Linked DNA regions of Homo sapiens: region 1 is linked to region 2. Evidence: promoter capture Hi-C in human tissues and cell types (Jung and others, 2019). All regions are on one chromosome and are shown on one strand. The core of a region is centred on a gene start or on the middle of the fragment in contact, and the rest is flanking DNA. Distances in the headings are between cores, read along the strand shown. Region 1 holds the start of TRE-TTC3-1 (tRNA-Glu (anticodon TTC) 3-1). Region 2 holds the start of NBPF1 (NBPF member 1).

Evidence for each region. The method cuts DNA at HindIII sites, captures the fragments that hold promoters and counts their contacts. A contact is called where the count stands out against the background at its distance.
Region 1: a contact is called between a fragment that was not itself captured here and the fragment with the promoter of NBPF1 in region 2, in 14 of the 25 tissues and cell types used here (H1 embryonic stem cells, IMR-90 fibroblasts, adrenal gland and 11 more).

The regions. Positions count from the first base shown.
Region 1 is chr1:16,872,227-16,878,126 of GRCh38, reverse strand. It overlaps LINC03126 (long intergenic non-protein coding RNA 3126), which reads right to left. Exons shown (of 2, transcript NR_160658.1): 1 at 4,984-5,900; 2 at 4,031-4,404. It overlaps TRE-TTC3-1 (tRNA-Glu (anticodon TTC) 3-1), which reads right to left and starts at 5,544; the gene lies at 5,473-5,544. It also overlaps the pseudogene LOC124903860 and the pseudogene RNU1-5P. RefSeq lists enhancers at 2,350-2,912, 2,913-3,476, 5,685-5,900 and a silencer at 2,918-3,076. The HindIII fragment of the contact is 3,425 bases long and covers 139-3,563 here.
Region 2 is chr1:16,610,450-16,615,636 of GRCh38, reverse strand. NBPF1 (NBPF member 1) reads left to right here and starts at 2,073. Exons shown (of 18, transcript NM_001405701.2): 1 at 2,073-2,299. RefSeq lists an enhancer at 1,272-2,229. The HindIII fragment of the contact is 9,860 bases long and covers 1-5,187 here.

The sequences.
Region 1 (5,900 bases), core at 602-3,101, 260 kb before region 2:
CAGCAGCCTGAAATACCAGGGTTTCCTTAGCTGTGGCCTTAGCTGCTCTTTCCACCAGGGAATTTCCTCTAATAATAAAAGTGTCTCCCTTCTGGTGTCCCCTGCAGTGAGTAATTGTTATTTCTTTGGGAGTTGGACAGCATCTAAAAGTTCCAAGATCTGAGTAAAGTTGTGTGGGGGATCCCTTGGCTCTTGATAGTCCCCTTTCCTTCCCTATGGCTGCATGAGCATGGAGCACCAGGAACCCATATTTAGAGTCAGTCAACACATTGACTCTTGAGGTTTTGGTTTTCTTCTTCTTTTTTTGAAACGGAGTCTTGCTGTGTCGCCCAGGCTGGAGTGCAGTGGCATGATCTCAGCTCACTGCAATCTCAGCTCACTGCAAACTCAGGGATTCTCATGCCCCAGCCTCCCAAGTAGCTGGGATTACAGGCGCACCCCACCACACCCGGCTAATTTTTGTATTTTTAGTAGAGACGGGGTTTCGCCATGTTGGCTAGGCCGGTCTCGAACTCCCAACCTCAGGTGATCCACCCACCTTGGCCTCCCAAAGTGCTGGGATTACAGGCGTGAGCCACCGTGTCCAGCTTAAGTCTTTTCATGGTTGGAAGGCCCTAATTAGAGCAGCTAATTCTGCTTTTTGAACAGAAGTCTGAGAAGGTAAACCCTTGGCCTCAATGACTTCTTGTTGGCTAAGCTTCCTTTCTTACTCCCTCATGAATATAGCTATTTCCATCTCTAAACCACTCAACATTTGGGTTAGACAACAGCTTGTCTTCAAGGTTGGGCCTTCTAGAGTAGAGCTCTTCCGTGGTTTCCACACAGGAGTCAATGAGTTTGGGATCTGTTTCTTGAGATGTGAGGTGCAGCAACAGAGTAGCAGGGTTTCAAAATCAGGATACTTTCAGGGTAACATCTGGGGTGTCAAGCAGAAGGGTCTGATATTTAAGTAACTGGCTCCCTGTTAGCCATTGGTGTACTTTTGCCTCTAGGACCCTCTGTACTGTACTTCATGGGGTGGCAGGGGGTGGGGGTGGGGTGGTATGGCATGTAATTTTTGTCCCAAGGTAAACTTACTGGTTTCTTCTAACAATAAAGTGATGGTAGCCACAGATCTCAAGCTTCCTAGTCACCTAGCTGCCACCTGGTCTAGCTGTTTAGAGAAATAAGCCACTGGTCCAAAGCAATTCCTCAGCCTTTGAATTAGAACATTTGAAGCTGTCCCTTGTTATTCATCCACATAGAGGGTGAAAGGTTTTTCTAAGTTCGAGAGTCCTGAGGCAAGGGATGTCCCTGGCTTTTCTTTTAAGGCTAAGAATGCCTTTTGACAGGTTCCAAGCTCCGCCTCCTGGGTTCACACCATTCTCCCGCCTCAGCCTCCTGAGTAGCTGGGACTACAGGCGCCCGCCACCACAGCCAGCTAATTTTTTTGTATTTTTAGTAGAGACGGGGTTTCACCGTGTTAGCCAGGATGGTCTCGATCTCCTGACCTCCTGATCTACCACCTCGGCCTCGCAAAGTGCTGGCATTACAGGCGTGAGCCACCGCACCCGGCCAACAAGTTTTTTTTTAAATGAACAGAGCATCAGTGAATGACAGTGCAAGTTTAAGACACCTAATAGACAAGTTAAAGGAGTCCTCCAGGCAGAAGGAAACTGACACCAGATGAAAATCTGGATGAAAAAAAAAAGACACTAGAAATGACATGTACATAGGCAAATATATAATTTTAACATCTGACTGTTTAGCCGGGCACGATGGCTCACGCCTGGAATCCCAGCACTTTGGGATTCAAGGAAGGTGGATCACTTGAGGTCAGGAGTTTGAGACCATCCTGGCCAATATGGTGAACCTTCCTCTCTACTAAAAATTCAGAAATTAGTCCGATATGGTGGCCCAAGCCTGTAGTCTCTGCTACTCAGGAGTCTGAGTCAGGAGAATCGCTTGAACCCGGAAAGCAGAGGTTGCAGTGAGCCAAGACTGTGCCACTGCACTCCAGCCTGTCCGATAGAGTGAGACTCGTCTTAAAAACACCACCACCAGCAACAAAAAAACAAAAATAAACAAACAAACAAAAACACATCTGACTCTTGAAACAAAAGTAATAGAGATGGATTGTAAGGTTTATAACAGGTGTAAAGTAAAATGCATGACAATAGCATAAAGGCAGGGGGAGGAGTCATGGGAAGAGGTATGATGCCACTTGAAGGCAGACTGTGATGGGTTAATTTTTGTGGAAAGCAAGGCAGAATTTTTGAAGTTTGTTCCTTCAAATACTTTCCGTTTCCCGTACATACAAGCTAGTTTGTTCTGCAGAGATCTCATTTTCTAGGAGGCTTGGAGGGGGACCTTCTGCTGTCTGTCCTCATGGGATGCACAAGACACAAGGGAACAGTCTTTCACTTTTAAATACATTGAAGGGTCTGAGGAGATAGATACAACTGCATTTTTTTTTTTTTAAATGAGGTGGGATTCTCACTGGTCTTGAACTTCTGAGCTCCGTGGAGGCTTCCCCTACTTCAGCCTATCAAAGCGTTGGGATTAATAGACGTGAGGCACTGCGCCTGGTCACAACCAACATTTAAAATCACGTCCCTGGGTGGTCTCTAACCACCAACCTTATGGTTAACAGCCGAACGCGCTAACCGATTGCACCACAGAGACAACCTCAATCGCTTGCTTTCATCTCTATATAGATTAAGCAATCACTAAACCCTAGGAGTTGCCATTCGCTTTCTGCGGGACAACTGTGCAGACTACAAAGCTTCAGAAAACCGGAGAGGCTGAGTCGACTAATCGTCTTGCTGCACGTTAGAAACGCGTGCATTGCGTGACTCTGAAGCCAGAAGGGCGGCCGAATGGCCTTCACCCTGCGTTCACCCTCGCCTGCTTCAGAAGCCAGTGCCTCTGGAAATGCCTGGATCTGCGACCCCAGCCTGAGCCAAGTAGGGCCCAAGGGAAGCTGAACTCCCCGACGGCTCTCACGGTAGCTCTTTCTGTTCTTTTGCGCCGCCTTCAGGCAATCATCTGTTCCGCTTGCTCTCCCTTCACTCAACTCGGCTTCAGTAGATGGGGTCGGTGGGGCGGGAGCGGGAAAGAGGCAGGGGAGTCAAAAGGGAAAACGTGACAAGGAGGAGGGAGAAGCAGGGGAGACCAGGACTAGACAATGGGACAGCCCAGGATGCCCGTGCAGAGGGCACCGGCTGGATGCAGAGAAGATGGGACATGTATCAGAATGGAGAGGGGGAAATGGGGAGAAGATGTGAGAGAAAATCACAAGAACCTGTAGCTGCCCAAGAATAAAGAAGTAAAAATCGCATAATGTTTTTACATTAATAAAAAAAATCGGGGGACCAGGGGCGGTGGCTCACGCCTGTAATCCCAGCACTTTGGGAGGCCGAGGTGGGTGGATCACTCACTTGAAGTCAGGAGTTCGAGACCAGCCGGGCCAACATGGTGAAAGCTCGTCTCTACCACAAATACAAAAATTAGCTGGGCGTGGTGGTGCACGTTTGTAGTCTCAGCTACTTAGGAGGCTGAGGCAGGAGAATCGCTTGAACCTAAGAGGCGGAGGTAGCAGTGAGCCGAGATCGTGCCGCTGCCCTCCAGCCTGGGCGACAAAGCGAAATTCTGTCTCTCAAAAAAATATACAAATAAATAATAGAGGGGTGGGGAAGCAAAACGACGGGCAGTAGGTGTGGGGCGCCTTGGGATTCTCTAGTGGTTAGTAGTCTGCGTTGTGCCTGCAGCAACCTCTGTTCTAATCGGAATCCTGGTACAGTCAGACTCTATCTTGGACCCACTGGGGCGAACCCACGTGTCTTTTGGTTTGCTTTTGATTCCTGCACCAGCTGAGGCCTTTATCTGCAGCCAGAAAGCCGGAAAGCAGGGTTTACCCCTGGCCCCACAGCGCCATACTGTCTGGGGAAAAGAAGGAAACCCAAGAGTACACAAACAGTGGCCCAAAGAGAAACCTTCCAAGTGCTCTATGCCTCACCGTTTAGCAGAAAATATCAAGCAACTCTCAATCTAGCTGGTCTGTACCTTCCACGAATGAAATAATGTATTTATTGCAGTCTTTCTGGTTGAGATATTTCAAATATTTGGTGGAGCTTTTACTGAGAGAGAGAGACACTCTCGAGTGTGGAAGAAAAAAAAGAGGGGATGTGAAGATGAGGCGACTTTAGGACAGAAAAAAAAAGAGACAAGGAAGCCATGTAAACGTTTTCGGGTGGGCGTGAGGCGTTGTCAGTCTTGAACCCCGTTATGTCAGGTAAAGAGCGCAGCCTCTTCTAGCACAAACACCGTTTCCCACATGGAGGAAATCACAGGGATCAGCAACTCTAGAGTGAGATGAAGAAGCTTCACTCTGGGAGAACCCCCTTCGTGACCACGGTCTCTCCCCTGCCAGGTAAGTGGAAATGAGCACATGGCCTGCAGGGACAGCACAGCCTCCTCGCCCTGGCCGGTCGCTCAGGGTCACCACCCTCCCCACTGCCGCCCCTCGCCATTCTTCCAAACCACTCTCCACCAAAGATTCCACCGACAGTCACCCCACAAGACAACCCAGGCCGCCTCTCAGCAGCGGCTCCCGCCCCGCAGCCACCGCGCCCTCTCACCCCCCCGCGGTTCTGCCCGCCGCCGCTGCCGAGTCTGCGCACTTCACCTCCCTGGCTCCCGCTCTCCCCTGAGCTTACAATGGACTCGGGGTTCTTCCGAACCCCTCTTGGGAGTACTGAATGGAAAAGGGGGAGCGTGCGCAAGTGCTTGGTAGAGTGTAGACGTCGTGGGATTTGACTGTGGTACCATCGCTTCGACGTCCTAGTGCTGATTTTTCCACCTGCCTTCTGCTTAGGGCACCGGCAGCAGTTTTCCATCTGTGCCTACTCCACCTGCTGTCCTTGTTGGGTCAGCGAACATCGCCTCCGTCTACCGCTCAATCAGCAAACGGGACCGCCCTCGAGGACCTCACCCGCCGCTTACCCCCCTAACAAATTCGCGGGCATCGCCTCCGGTCGCCTCTTCCCAAGGCCTAACGAGCGCCTTCGCTGGCAACGGAGGTGAGGAGGCTCCGCTGACTGGCTGGTGCCCGTGTCCGGGGCTGCCACAAACGCCACGACTTGGCTTGGCCTCTCTCTTAGTTATTCGCAGCTCAGCCCGATGGGCGTCTCCGGGGTGGCGACGGGAAAGAAGGTGGGCTTATTGGGTGCAGCTCCACGGGGGCTGGCATCTTTGCCGGGCTGTGTACACCGGAGCGAGACGCTCAGTCGCTCTCTAAAGCTGCTCCCGCGGATGACGGACACTGAGATAAACAGGAACGGTGTGTCGTGAGAGGTGGTCCACCAGCACTTGCCCTCCTTCGCCCGGCTTTAACCCCGCTGCGGAGACTGTTCTGCTTCTGGCCCTTGGAGCAGGCCGGCTGACAGCGTAGTGAAGGAAGATTCCTGCGGGAGGGCGGCCAGTGTAAAACAATTCCCTGGCCGGGAATCGAACCCGGGCCGCGGCGGTGAAAGCGCCGAATCCTAGCCACTAGACCACCAGGGACACACAGGAGGGAGCTTTGTCTCCCTTCTTCTGTCAGAAGCGACAGCTTCCCTGAGCTCTGGGAGGACTTGGGCCTTGTGAGGGTCGCTCTTTGCTCCTGGAGTCTCTCACAAGGCCATTCCCTCCCTGCTTTCTTCAAAAAAAGAGCCTGCAAGCGACACACCGAGGGCTCCGCGAGGGACACCGAGGCCACGAGTCCGGAGGCCTGGAGCGAGTTGCAGCGACCCGGCCGCAGCTCACCACTGAACTAGAGATGCGCCTTTGCGAGGTGGCAGCAAGTGACCAGCCGGTCGTGGGTCGCCAGGTCCGGAGCCGCGCACCAGGTTGCCAGGAGGAGGCGGGAGCGCGGAGGCGCC
Region 2 (5,187 bases), core at 824-3,323:
TTCATTTCTCTCTCTCTCTCTCTCTCTCTTTGAGACAAGATCTTGCTCTGTCATCCAGGCTGGAATGCAGTGGCATGATCATGGCTCACTGCAGCCTCAACCTCCTGAGCTCAAGCAATCCTCCCACCTCAGCCTCCCAAATAGCTGGGAGTACAGGTGCCCGCCACCACGCCTGGCTAATTTTGCTTGTATTTTATGTAGAGACAGGGTCTCACCAAGTTGCCCAGGTTAGTCTCAAACTCCTGAGCTCAAATGATCTGCGGGCCTTGGCCTCCCAAAGTGCTTGGATTACAGGTATGAGCCACTGTGCCTGGCTCAGTCTTCCTCTCTTAAAGCAACCAATGTTATTAGTTTTATGTGGGCCACCCCATGGCTTATCATTATTAATTCAGGTGTTTATACAAGGCTCTTTGAGAACTCAGTTTTAAAGGTTACCCAAAGCATCCTAAGACAACTCAGCCTAAAACGATATAAAATCAGTTTTAATATAACTGAAGTTTCTACATTCTGACTCCAACTGTCAGATTGTGACATTTTCTCTTTCTCTGACTTTATGCCAAATTTACTTCAACTTCTAGCATCCATCATTCTCATTTATGAACAAATATGTATTTAACAAATGTGGAAATACAAATCATGAAGCAAACAAAACCAAACCCTGGGCTTACGTAGCCGATAGTAAAAAATTCACCAAAATAACCACCCGATTACAGTTTCATGCAATGTGATAGGAGTAAGGGACCACCATAGGGAGGTCAGAAGGTGCTTTTCAGAGGTGGAGACTACAGCTGTTCTCAGAAGAATAGGGGTTAGAAGAACTTTCCAGGCACAGAGCAAAGCATGAGCAAAAGCTCTGTGGAGGCCAGGAAGCTGGTAAATAGGGAATAAAAGAGGCCAGTTTGGCTGGAGCAGAGAGAGCAGAACAGAATTGGTCTGAGTAGTGAGAAGAGATGAAGAAGTGGGCAAGGCGCCTGGCCATTCGGGGCTTGGTTAGTTAGGAGGTTTTGTCTAAGAGAATGGGAAGGTGTTTAAGTGCTTTAGGCTGGGAAGTGACACGGTCACATTATATTTTGGAAAAGCCACTCTGCCTGTTGTGTTGAGATTAGAGAGGCGATAAAGGGGATATGGGTAAACCACAAGAAGACTAGGTCAGTAGTCCCTCGACCCTCACTCCCCAGGTGAAGGCAGCCTAGACTAGGGTGGTGACGGAGGAGATAGAAGAGGACAGATTCAAGGAAAATTTGGAAGGTAAAAACCAGTAGGATTTGCTGACGGATGGAGTATAGGAGGGGAGAGGTAGATTATCAGGGATGTATCTTAGTTTTCTTATACAAGATAGATTCAGTTGCAATGAAATTGTTAACTGAAATTGACTTTAAATAATGGCATGACCTAAAGTTATGCAAACATTTGCCTTAGATAAAATATCAAGTTTTCAAAGTTTTTAGCTGGGTGGACGGCATGGCTTTACTTCCTATTTCTTGGTATTCTAATCCTGTTGAAAAAAAAAGTTTTTCTTTTTCTCAAAGGCTTATTTCAGTGGAAGCCCATCTGCAAAATCTGTTAATAAATTTAAATTAGAAAATAACTACAAGTGCCATTGACACATTGGTTATTCTTTTTGAGAGTGACCTAAGGCCACCTCTGGGAGAGCTGGGGGCTCTTCTGAAGCCTGCCCGACTGCACCGCGTGCCCGTGCCTGGAAGTCAGATTCGGGGCGGTGCGGCAGCGCGAGGCCTGCAGTCCTAAGCGCGGGGTCGCTCCAGCCCCAGAGGGGGTGTGTCTCCTGCCTCTTCAACCTGGCAGGGGCTGTTCAAGTGGCCGGGGAAACCAGCGATTTGGAGGGTCGAGGGCTGGTGCTTTGAAAGACAGGCGGAGGGGAGAGAGGGATTTCCCCGTCCCCGCTGCACTCGGTCCTTCCCCTGGGTTACTCCTTTCCTCCGCCTGCGCGGCCCCTAACCTGCTCGAACCCGTTGTGCAGAAGAGGCCGCCGGGTCCCTTTAAGGCCCCGCCGCGCCTGCGCCTTGGGTTATCCTGACACGCCCATCGGGATCCTGAGGAGCCAGTGGGCTGCAGGCGCAGGCGCAGGCGAGGGGCTGGGTGGCGGTTGAGACAGCGGCGGTACTGGGAGGCGTAGGTGAGGGTCGCGAGGCTGCCCGAGCTTCTGAGCGAGCGCGGTGCTTTTGGGAACGCGGGACGGGCGATCTGCGGCGCCAGGAGCTGGGCCGAGGCGCGGCGGCGCGGCTGCCGGCTGCCCTGTGAATGGGAAGTTACGCGAAGTCCACCCAGCGTTTCTGAGGTGAGGGCGCCGCGCCAGGCTGGGCGGGCGGTGAATCCGGGACCCGCGGGCGCACAGCTGGGTCGAGGCGCGGCCGTGGCAAGTTTTGTTGCGCGAGCGCGGGGGCGGGTGGGGGCTGTGGGGGGTCGTGCACCGCCGGGGCCTGAGTTCCCCGCGCTGGATTCTTCGCCTGCCGCTGCCGCCCGCAGCCCAACTCTCGTGGGCGCTGGGGAAGAAACTCGCTGGCGGGTGTTCTGTGGCATCCCAGGGGGTGGAGGGACGGAGCAGCTTCGGGGGCACGTCCTCCTATATCCTGTAGAGGACACTGACCCCGCACCCCACCCTCCAGGCCAGAAATCCGTTCCCTCTGCGGACCTGAGAGGCGAGCGCGCTCGCGCCCCTGACTTGCAAAGTTGGGGTCTTTACTGGCCTCCGGGCTTCTGCTCCTGGCGGTGTCTCCAGGCTGGTGATGGGCAAGCCAGGTGTGCCAGCTCCAGGATGCACATGAGCAGCATTTGTAGCCATCACTGAATCACCTCCTGACTAGCGGGGCAAGCCTCAAATGAACCGCAGGATTTCGGGTAGATTGGATTGTGGGGTTGCTGTTTGCACTCCAAAGAGTTGCTGTGATTTCCCTGCGTCTGGCTGGCTGGCTGGCTTCTTAGATCATCTCATGTGGCGTCCTTTCAGCGGAGAGTTAACCAAGACGTTTGGCCTGGCTTCCTTGTTTTCCTCCTATCTTTTGCTTAGAGCTGCTTTCGAAAAGAAGTCTTTTCTGGCAGTGGTATCTTTTCTTTGGGTTACAGTGTTGTTCATCCTTTCTTTGCCAAAAGAATGAATCCCAGTGCTTCAGGAAGTTAAAGAAAAGATCTGCTGGTAGTGTTCTGAGCTGATATGCGTTAGTAGCTTTTTGTTTTTAAATTCTATTGGTAAAATTTCACTAGTGAACCAGAAGCTACTTTTTCTATTCTGAAATGCTAGCTTTAAGATTTCTGAGAACTTTGCGTCAAAGAAATCTTGGAAAAGTTACTGAAGTATACAGAAGTTCACAATTTTACATGTGCAGGTGGCCCGGGCGCAGTGATCACACCTGTAATCCCAGCACTTTGGGACGCCAAGGTGGGTAGATCACTTGAGCCCAGGATTTCCAGACCAGCCTGGGCAATGTGGCAAAACCCTTTCTCTACTAAAAATACAGAAGTTAGCTGTGTGTGGTGGCGTGTGCCTGTAGTCCCAGCTACCCGGTAGGCTGAGTTGGGAGGATCACCAGAGCCCGGGAGGTTGAGATTGCAGTGAGCCGTGATCATGGCAGTGCACTCCGACCTGGATGGCAGAGTGAGACCCTGTCTCAAAAAAAAAAAAAAAAAAGTAATGAATTTTTACCAAGTGAACCACCACAGATCAAGAAATTGAACATTACTAGTCTGGGGTATATTTGTAGGGGTGGCATTGTTGGTTTTAGAGGTATATGAATGATAAAACTTTAGTATTACATATTGTTGAACATTTTCCCAAAGTAGTTGTACCATTTAGCAGGGATATGCTGGTTACCCCACATCTTCGCTGATACCTGTCAGTTAAAAATTATTTTGCCATTCTAGTAGGGGTGCAGTAATATATCAGTGTGGTTTCATTGAGATTGAGTATCTTTTATTGCCATTTATATGTCCTCTTTTGTGACGTGCCTGTTAAATCTTTTTATCCAGTTTTCATTGATATGCTTGTTTTCCTGTTGATTTGTAATACTTTATTCTGGATATGCCTCCTTTCTAGGATTTATATGTATTGCATTTCCCTTTTTTCAATCTGTAGCTTGCGTTTTCACTCTTTTATGGTGTTTTTTCATGAAGGGAGATTCTCTTTTTTTTTTTTTCTTTTTGAGACAGGATCTCACTCCATCGCCCAGGCTGGAGTGCAGTGGCACAATCACAGCTCACTGCAACCTTGACCTCACAAGGCTCAGGTGATCCCCCTGCCTCAGCCCCCAAGTAGCTGGGACCTACAGGGGAGTACCACCACACTCAGCTGTTTTCTGTATTTTTAGTAGAGATGGGTTTTGCCACGTTGCATAGGCTGGTCTGGAATTCCTAGGCTCAAGTGATACACCTGCCTCGGCCTCCCAAAGGGTTGGGATTACAGGCATGAGCCACTGCACCCAGCCTGAGATTCTTCATTTTAATGAAATTATACTTTATTAATCTTTTCCTTTATGGTTACTGTTTTTTGTGTCCTGTTTAAGAAATCAATGCCTAACCTAAGAGTATGAACACATTTTTCTGTGTTAACCTTATAACGATTTTATTTTAGTTTTTGCTTTTTTTTTTTTTCAGACAGGGCCTCAGTCTATTATTGCCCAGGCTAGAGTGTGGTGGCAGGATCTCAGCTCACTCAACCTCCATCTCCTGGCTCAAGTGATCCTCCCACCTCAGCCTCCTGAGTAGCTGCGACTATAGGCATGTGCCACCATGCCTGGCTAATTTTCATATTTTTTGTAGAGATGGGGATTCAACATGTTTCCCAGGTTGGTCTCGAACTCCTGGGCTCAAGTAATCTGCCCGCTTCAGCCTCCCAGAGTGCTGGAATTACAGGTGTGAGCCACCCCACCTGGCTATGATTCACTTTTTACTACATGGATGTGTCTGCTTGATCCAGCACCATTTATTGAAAAGACCATCCTTTTCCTTCCGCACCATGTGGCACTTTTTTTCATAAATCGAATGACTGTATGGTCATCTGATTTATGAAATTAGTGTGGGTCTGTTTCTGTTTCTGGACCAACTTGGGTAACATAGTGAGATCCCATCTCTACAACAAATAAAAATAATAAATAAATGAATAAAATTTAAAAAATAAGTGCGTAGAGCAGATGGAGTCATAGGTGATAATTTATAAATGATTGCCAGTTTCTT